Linked DNA regions of Homo sapiens: region 2 is linked to region 1. Evidence: promoter capture Hi-C in 16 types of primary human blood cells and fetal thymus (Javierre and others, 2016). All regions are on one chromosome and are shown on one strand. Each heading gives the region's core, a stretch centred on a gene start or on the middle of the fragment in contact. The rest is flanking DNA. Distances are from core to core; before and after follow the strand shown.

Evidence for each region. Contacts are between HindIII fragments. The CHiCAGO score rates a contact against its expected background, and 5 or more counts as called.
Region 2: a fragment that was not itself captured here is called in contact with the fragment with the promoter of KCNS2 in region 1 in 1 of 17 cell types (M1 macrophages); the score reaches 5.3 in M1 macrophages.

What each region holds. Positions count from the first base shown.
Region 1 is chr8:98,425,008-98,428,650 of GRCh38, reverse strand. It overlaps KCNS2 (potassium voltage-gated channel modifier subfamily S member 2), which reads right to left and starts at 1,693. Exons shown (of 2, transcript NM_020697.4): 1 at 1,322-1,693; 2 at 1-713. The coding sequence starts at 671. It also overlaps a transcript of STK3 not described here. RefSeq lists a silencer at 1,594-1,793. The HindIII fragment of the contact is 15,366 bases long and covers 407-3,643 here.
Region 2 is chr8:98,186,154-98,189,694 of GRCh38, reverse strand. All of the region lies in intron 2 of NIPAL2-AS1 (NIPAL2 antisense RNA 1), which reads right to left. Among named protein-coding and RNA genes, the nearest start is that of NIPAL2-AS1, 11 kb to the right of the region's middle. The HindIII fragment of the contact is 268 bases long and covers 2,023-2,290 here.

The DNA.
Region 1 (3,643 bases), core at 444-2,943:
TCCTCGCCAGGGTTGCCCTGGCTGTCAGGGATTTGGAAATCGGGCAGGCTATTGAGGCACATGGTGATGATGGACCCCATCACCACCAGGATGGACAGGATGCTGAAGACCCTGCTCAGCACTGAGTAGCCGGGGTTGTCCAGCGCCAGCCACAGCTGCCTGCGGAAGTTGCCGAGGGGCTGCCCATCGAACTTGGAGGCGTCGTTGTAGAAGGCAAGGATCTCATCGAAGGAAGACGTGGTGCTCTCCTGGTCACTCTGCTCGTCCCACTTCTCCTGCTCGGGCTCTACTTTGCGGCCATGGTAGCTGTAGCTGCAGCAGGAGTCAATGAAGAACTCGTTGATGCCCCAGTACTCGATCTCCTGGCTGAAGGAGAAGACACATAGCTCAGCCATGACGTGAAGCTTGCCGGTGTGATAGAAATGCAGCACGTAGGGGAAGAGCTCAGGGTTGCGGTCGAAGTAGAACTCCCGCTGGACGTCGTCGTAGTCATCGCAGAGCTCCAGAATGGCCTCGCGCGAGTGGCAGAGCAGCAAGCGGCCCAGGCGCGTCTCGGGGAAGCGCAGCAGCGTGTGCGAGCGCAGCCTCCTCTTGAAGCCGCCCACATTGATGCGGATCTCCCCGTCCTCGACGTTAGCCTCCGACACGTCCCACAGGCTCTGGCCGGTCATGCTGGAGGCGCCGGCCGCCCGCGCCGCGCGGGGGCGCTACACCTGGAAGCGGAGGGAACAGCGTCGGCGAGAGCGCCGTGCGCCCTGGCGGGGCCCCCTCTCCCTACCCATTACTGGCGGGCCCAGGCCTCCTGGTGGGTCTTGGGTGCTGAAGGGCTGGGCTGGGGCAAGAGTTTGAGGGGTCTGATCCCCTCCCAGGAAAGGCTGGGGGTGGGTATGTTTCTATTAGCACAGCTCCACCCCAGGGGTCTCGGTGGGCGCTTTGCGCGTGCGGGGTCGCGTCCCCGCGGCTCTGAGCGCCCAGGGGGCTGCATGCTGACCTTGTCCATGGGCAGGCCCGGGAGACGCCCCCGCCCGCTCGCCGCAGACAGGCGGGACCGGAGCTGAGATACGCACGGGCAGGGCCGGGCCGACACGGGGGGCGCGTAGCTTTGGTGGGGTGGGGGGGATGCGCTGGAGTCTGGAAACCCGGGCCGCGGGAATGAGGGGGGCGGCCCGGCCTCCCCTGGGTCCAGATCCCACGCCTGCAGCCCCCGCGTCCCCGGCCCAGGTCTCCCTGCCGGCCTGGCGCTATGCCCCGGGGCCGCGTGCGCTGCGCCTCACCCAGCGGGGCTGCCCGGGCTCGCCCTGCGCGTTCTGGAAGCGCTTACCTGGGAGCACGGGTGCCCGCGGCCGAGGCCGGCGGGAAACTTCCCCAACCCGCGGGCGAGCATCGCGGCGGTGGCCGCTGCCTGCTGGCGGTGCGTGCGCGGGTGCGAGTGTGTGCGCCCGGCGGGCCGGCGGGCGGGGGCCGCCGAGCGTCTCCTCCCGTCTCGGGCCGGGTACGCCGCCGCCGCCCGCAGCTGCCGAAGGCTCACAGGTGGCTGCGTGGTCCCGCCGCTCCCGGAGCCCCCTCTCCGGATCCGCGCGCCCCTCACCCACCCAGAGAGGCAGGAACCCGCGCCGCATTCGCCCCGTGAGCCGGGGCGGGAGCAGAGCGGGTGTGACGGGGCGCCCGCCCTGCGCGGGGCGCGGCGCGGTGGTGCTGAACGGACAGCTCCGCGTGCCTCGGCCGCCGCCCGGGCTCGGAAGGCGCAGCCGCCGCCGCCGCTGCTTCTCTGCGCTTCCCCGGCGCGTCACCGCGACCACCTTGCGCCCCCGGCTCGGCGCGGGGCCGACACCTCTCCCTTCCCCCCGACCATCCCCCGGTGACAGCTGTTATTATCACCACCCCCAGGGCGCAGGCAGGGGGCTGCCTACGGTGACCTTTCCCCGCTGGGTCTGGCGGGAGCTGGGCTGGGAAATAAAGGGCGGCTTGCGCGTGTCCGGGGACAGGGCGGGACCGGAGGAACTCCAGGTGTCCCCTTTTAGGGACCTGAAGAAAAGTTTCCCGAAGCCCGGGGGTGGGGTTGTTGGGGAACAGGAGCTGGAGGGGAAAAGAGGGGGCCGGGAAGTCCAAGGTGGAGATCGGCTTAGTACGCGGGGGGCGGGAGCGCAGGCCGCACGGCGGGGGCGGGAGTCGCTGAGTTCTGGTCGGGAGCTCTGTGTGGGCACAGTTTGTGTCCAGGCCGGTGTGGTGTGCTGGCTGTGCGGGACTGCAGGGCGCTGTGTGTGTATGTAGGCTGAGGACAGCAGGACTTTTCAGTGTCTGTGTGTACCGCGTTCATTAAAATGGGTCCTCTGTCGGATGGGAAGATGCGTCGGCACAGGGGGGACCTGGGACGTGTGTCAGCGCAGTGTGTGGCATGGGGAACCGTGTGCTGTGTGTACATGTGCTGTGTACAGTGTAGTACTCTTGGGACTGTGACGGGCTCATGTGTGTGGAATATGTTGAGAGCGGTGTGCTTGCCGACAGTGGGGACTGGGGGGTTCAAGCTGGAGTGGGGACTGGTAGATGTGCTCAGGATCTGTGTCCCTATTCCTAAGAAGACTCGTGGCCCAGATCTGAGCTCTTGGTCTGCTGGGATTGTCCTTAAGGCCCTGCCTACTGGGCTGAGCTGAGAAATGGACCCAGTCCCTGGGGAGCCCCCTCCCTTTGGTGTTTCTCTGTGGTGTCCACTTGCAAAGACTGGAGCACCGTGGTTGTGTGAGCTTAGCAGGGAGCTAGCGTCTACATGTCTCGGTCAGAAGTCCTGGGAATGCCCTTGCAGGGTGGCTCTGGATTCATGGTGCAACCACCACTGCCACAGTGGGAAGTACATTCTTTCTTTACGCAATCCTGGCAATGCCGTCCCAGCTGAAAAGGTGCTCTGTGTAGCTCTGGAGGGCTTGGGGCCTCCTTGGAGGACCTGTAGAGGACCGTTAATCTGGCTTCGAATGGGGGCTCCTGCATCCAAGTCTGACCCATCCCTGTGACCCACTGGCTTCTGGACATGTGTGTGGGTGTGAATGCAGGTGTGTTTCCTGCTGAGAGGGCTTCACACCCATGCCCCTGCAGGCCTCTGCAAATGTGGTGGATTCCACAGAGGCAGCCACATGGGAGAGGGATAGTAGGGTAGTGAGGGCCACACACACTTCCTCTTTCTTGTGTATGACCTTTCCCCAGGCTTTGGGAAACTTTTCTTCAGGTCCCTAAAAGAGGAATCCAGTCCTCCATTCTGCCCTACCCTCAAACACACACAAGCCACCCTTTATTTCCCAGTGTGTTTGTGTGTGTGTGTGTGTGTGTGTGTCTGAGAGGGAGAGACGGAGAAAAATCTGATCTTGGTTATCCTTGTCTTCATCTCCCTTTCTTTCAGGGTCTGTGTGTGGACAGCAGCCTCTATCTAGGTCTGCTGGGTCCATCATTGGAGGTCTGTGGCTCCCACACACCTGGCTGCAGTCTGGGAGCCCCTGGATCTCCTTCATCCCCATGGGGGTGCTGTGGAGAGAGTGCCACCCTTGCTGAGGGGGTGTGTGCTTCAGTGCATTTATAATCCCTGTGTCAGTGCCTCTTTCACCCTTTTCCAATCCCCCCTTCCACACCTTCGGCGGGGTGATGGTGGCTGCAAGGT
Region 2 (3,541 bases), core at 907-3,406, 240 kb after region 1:
GTAATGTGTAAGTTTGGCTCCAAAGGACGCAGGTGTAATGGTGGACATAACTCAAAGAGATAGAAATGTCGAGCCAAGTTCCCTAAGCCAAGCACCCTCTTTGTGCTCCTGTTTCCAAGCACGCAACTCATCCAGGAATGGTGAGTGTACACACTCAGCCATGCTGAAGGCTGCCTCAGTGCTTGCCAATTTAACAGTGATATGGTGGACATAAATATAGCAGTTACTGACATGAACCTTCCCAACACTCTTCCAGACTGCTTTACTTAAACTCTGTGGCTGGTTATAGAGGCAGTCTTTGCACTGGGCGGCTGCAAGGCTAATGCACATGTTTGGCACCAGTGAATGTGAGTCCTTTAGTGAGGTTGCTAGATAAACACCACACATTTTGAACTATTAGAATAAAATCTCAAAATTGAACCCAACGTGATTGTATGGGGAATTTAGAGGCTGCTTCTAATCGTTAGACTCATCAACAGTCTGGCTCTTATTATGACCATCTTGAAGTAAAACAATAAAATAAAATTCCACACATACACAGTTTCCATGCAAATATAGACCAGCCTTGAGCTATTAAACCTAGCATTTTAGCAATTGTGGTAAATGCAGGGAAGAGCCTTTCCACCCAGGAATTTTTGAGTCTGTTCCCTTTCTCACCAGCCTCAGGGTACCACACAACATGATGTCCTGTGCCAGAAGAGCAAATCAGTTACAGGAGCTGTGGCCCATCCAAGGAAGCTTTTTTTTTTTTTTCCTGAGAGGGAGGAAACTCCTCCTTTAATGTTGGTCCTTATTGAGAGTTAATGAGTCCCAACCACAATGTAAAAGAGAAATATCAATCCCAATATCAAATAAATGTGGTGTTTTGGGGTGCACCCTGCTGGGCCAGGTGCTGCCAAGAGTTTCATGGAGTTCCAGACAAGATGTCAGATAGTCTCCATGTTCCAGGAAAGAATCTCCTTCCCAGGGAGCTGACAAGTGCATAGCCAAGAAAGAGCCCTCCATTCCTGGTGGGACCAGCAAGCATGGACCGAAGCCACTTTGCACATTTGAGCTGCTGCTATCCAAACATGAACAAATCCATCCAGTGTGCACGCATCCCACTTTCAAGCCTTTCCCTCATGGTTCTAATTTGAAAACCAACCTCAGAAATGTTCTGAGGCTTGGGCTCTACTCCCTCTATCCAAAGCACCTCACCTAAACCTTCTAAACACTGTGCATGAACAAGGAGATGAATCAACTCAAGAACTCTTGACCCCAGGGACTCAAAGCCTGGGTTATTTGCCTGATTATAGACTACTAGCTCAATTACCACATGACTCAATCTTAGCAAATGTTCATTAATTCACTCAAATATAATCAATCACCTACAATTTTCAATGTAACATGCATTTTTTAAATAGACTTTATTTTGTAGAGTAGCTTTAGGTCACAGCAAAATTGAGCAGAAGGTACAGAGAATTGCCATCTGCTTCCTGCCCCTTCACAGGCACAGCCTCTCCTATTAGCAACATCCCCCACCAGAGTGGTACATTTGTTACAATCAATGAGCCTACATTGGCACATCATTATCACCCAAACTCCCTGGTTTACGTTAGGGTTCGCTCTTGCTGTTATACATTCTACGGGTTTGGACAAGTGTATGGTGACATGTGCCCATCATGATAGTATCATACAGATCAGTTTCCAAAACCCTCTGTGCTCTGCCTAGTCGTCCCTCCATCCCTGCACGCCCTGGCAACCACTGATCTTTTTACTGTCTCCAAAGTTTTGCCTTTTCAGGAATGTCATATGTTGAAATCATATAGTATGTAGCTTTTTCAAATTGGCTTCTTTCACTTAGTAACATGGATTTAAGGTTCCTCCATGGCTATTTACACTTAGTTGCCCATTTCTTTTGAGTGCTGAATAGTATTCCATTGCCTGGACGTACCACAGTTTATTCGCCTATTCGTCTACTTGGTTGGACAAGTAGATAAATAGATATCATCTTGGAAGGACATCTTGCAATTGCAAAAAGCTTCCAAGTTTTTGCAATTTAAAGTTATTGGGAATATGATGATGAATTAGACCAGCTCTTTGTGAGTTGCCTGTCTAGTTAGAGAAACCATAGCTATCATTTATTGAGCCCTTACTGCTAATCTTTTACTTGTGTTATTCATTTCATCCTTAAAATTCTCTATTAGAGAGGTCCTGATCCCCACTTTACAGATTAGAAAACCATGATAAGAGGCAGGGCAGGGATTAGGGTAAGTCAAGAGAGGCCCAAGGCACACAATTTAATGAAGCTTATGAAAATCTGACTTGTGGGGTGGTGAGAGGACCCTGAGAGTGAGTGCCTCTTTAAATGTTGTGCCCTAGGTGCCTCACTGTGTCCCAGTCCTGGGAAAAGGAGTTAAGTGACTTGACCAGTATCATTCAGCTGGCAAGTGGCGGAGCTGGGATTTGAACCCAGGACATCTAGCTCTGTAACCCACACTCTTAGCACAAGTGGCCAAAGTACCTACACTGTGCAACTGAATGTTGAAAATGCCTTAAGAGACTTAAAGGGCATGGGAGCTTGGAGGAGAGAAAGGTCTAGGGCACAGTCTTCAAAGGGATTCAGGATTGTAGTGGGTTAAATGGTGGCCCCTGAAACAATATGTCCATGTCCTAAACCCTGCAACCTGTGAATGTGACCATATTTGGAAATAAGTTCTTTGCAAAAGAAATTCAGGATCTTGAGATGAAAGCAACCGGGATTACCTGGGTGGCACCTAAATCCATTGACAAGTGTCCTTAGACAGAAAAGGCAAGACACAGAGAGGGCCCTGTGAAGATAGAAGCAGAGACTGGAGTCCTGAAATCACAAGCCAAGGCAGACCTAGAGCCATCAGAAACTAGAGGAGACAGGGCAGGACTCTCCCCTAGCGCCTTCCGAGGGAGCACAGCCCTGACTACTCCTTGATTTCAGACTTCTGACCTCCTTAGTGGTGATTTATTGTGGAAACTCTAGGAAACTAAAACAGGGATTGACCTGGTCTTTGAAGTGCATGTAGAATTTGGACATAAGGGGAAGCCCCATGAGCAAAGAAGAAACTGAATAGTTCAAGCCTGGTAAACATCTATAACATGGGGTCACACGAAGAGGAAGGCAACTCGGTAAGGCTAGAAAAGCAAGTAAGAAGGCCCTGAGTGGCCAGCTATAACACAGATTTAAGAGTTCAGGCTTGATTTGAGAGGTAAACGATTGTATTAACTTCATTTCCAGGGATGCAGACTGAACTTAACGAACATAATCAGTATCTTTCCAAAAACTCACCTATCCATGCACACTGGCAAATAACACTCAAAAACAACAACAATAAAACTCACCTATCAGAATTTAAGGGCTGGGCGCGGTGGCTCACGCCTGTAATCCCAGCATTTTGGGAGGCCGAGGCGTGTGCATCACGAGGTCAGGAGATCGAGACCATCCTGGCTAACACAGTGAAACCCCGTCTCTACTAAAAATACAAGACATAAGCCGGGCGTGGTGGTGGGCGCCTGTAGTTCCAGCTAC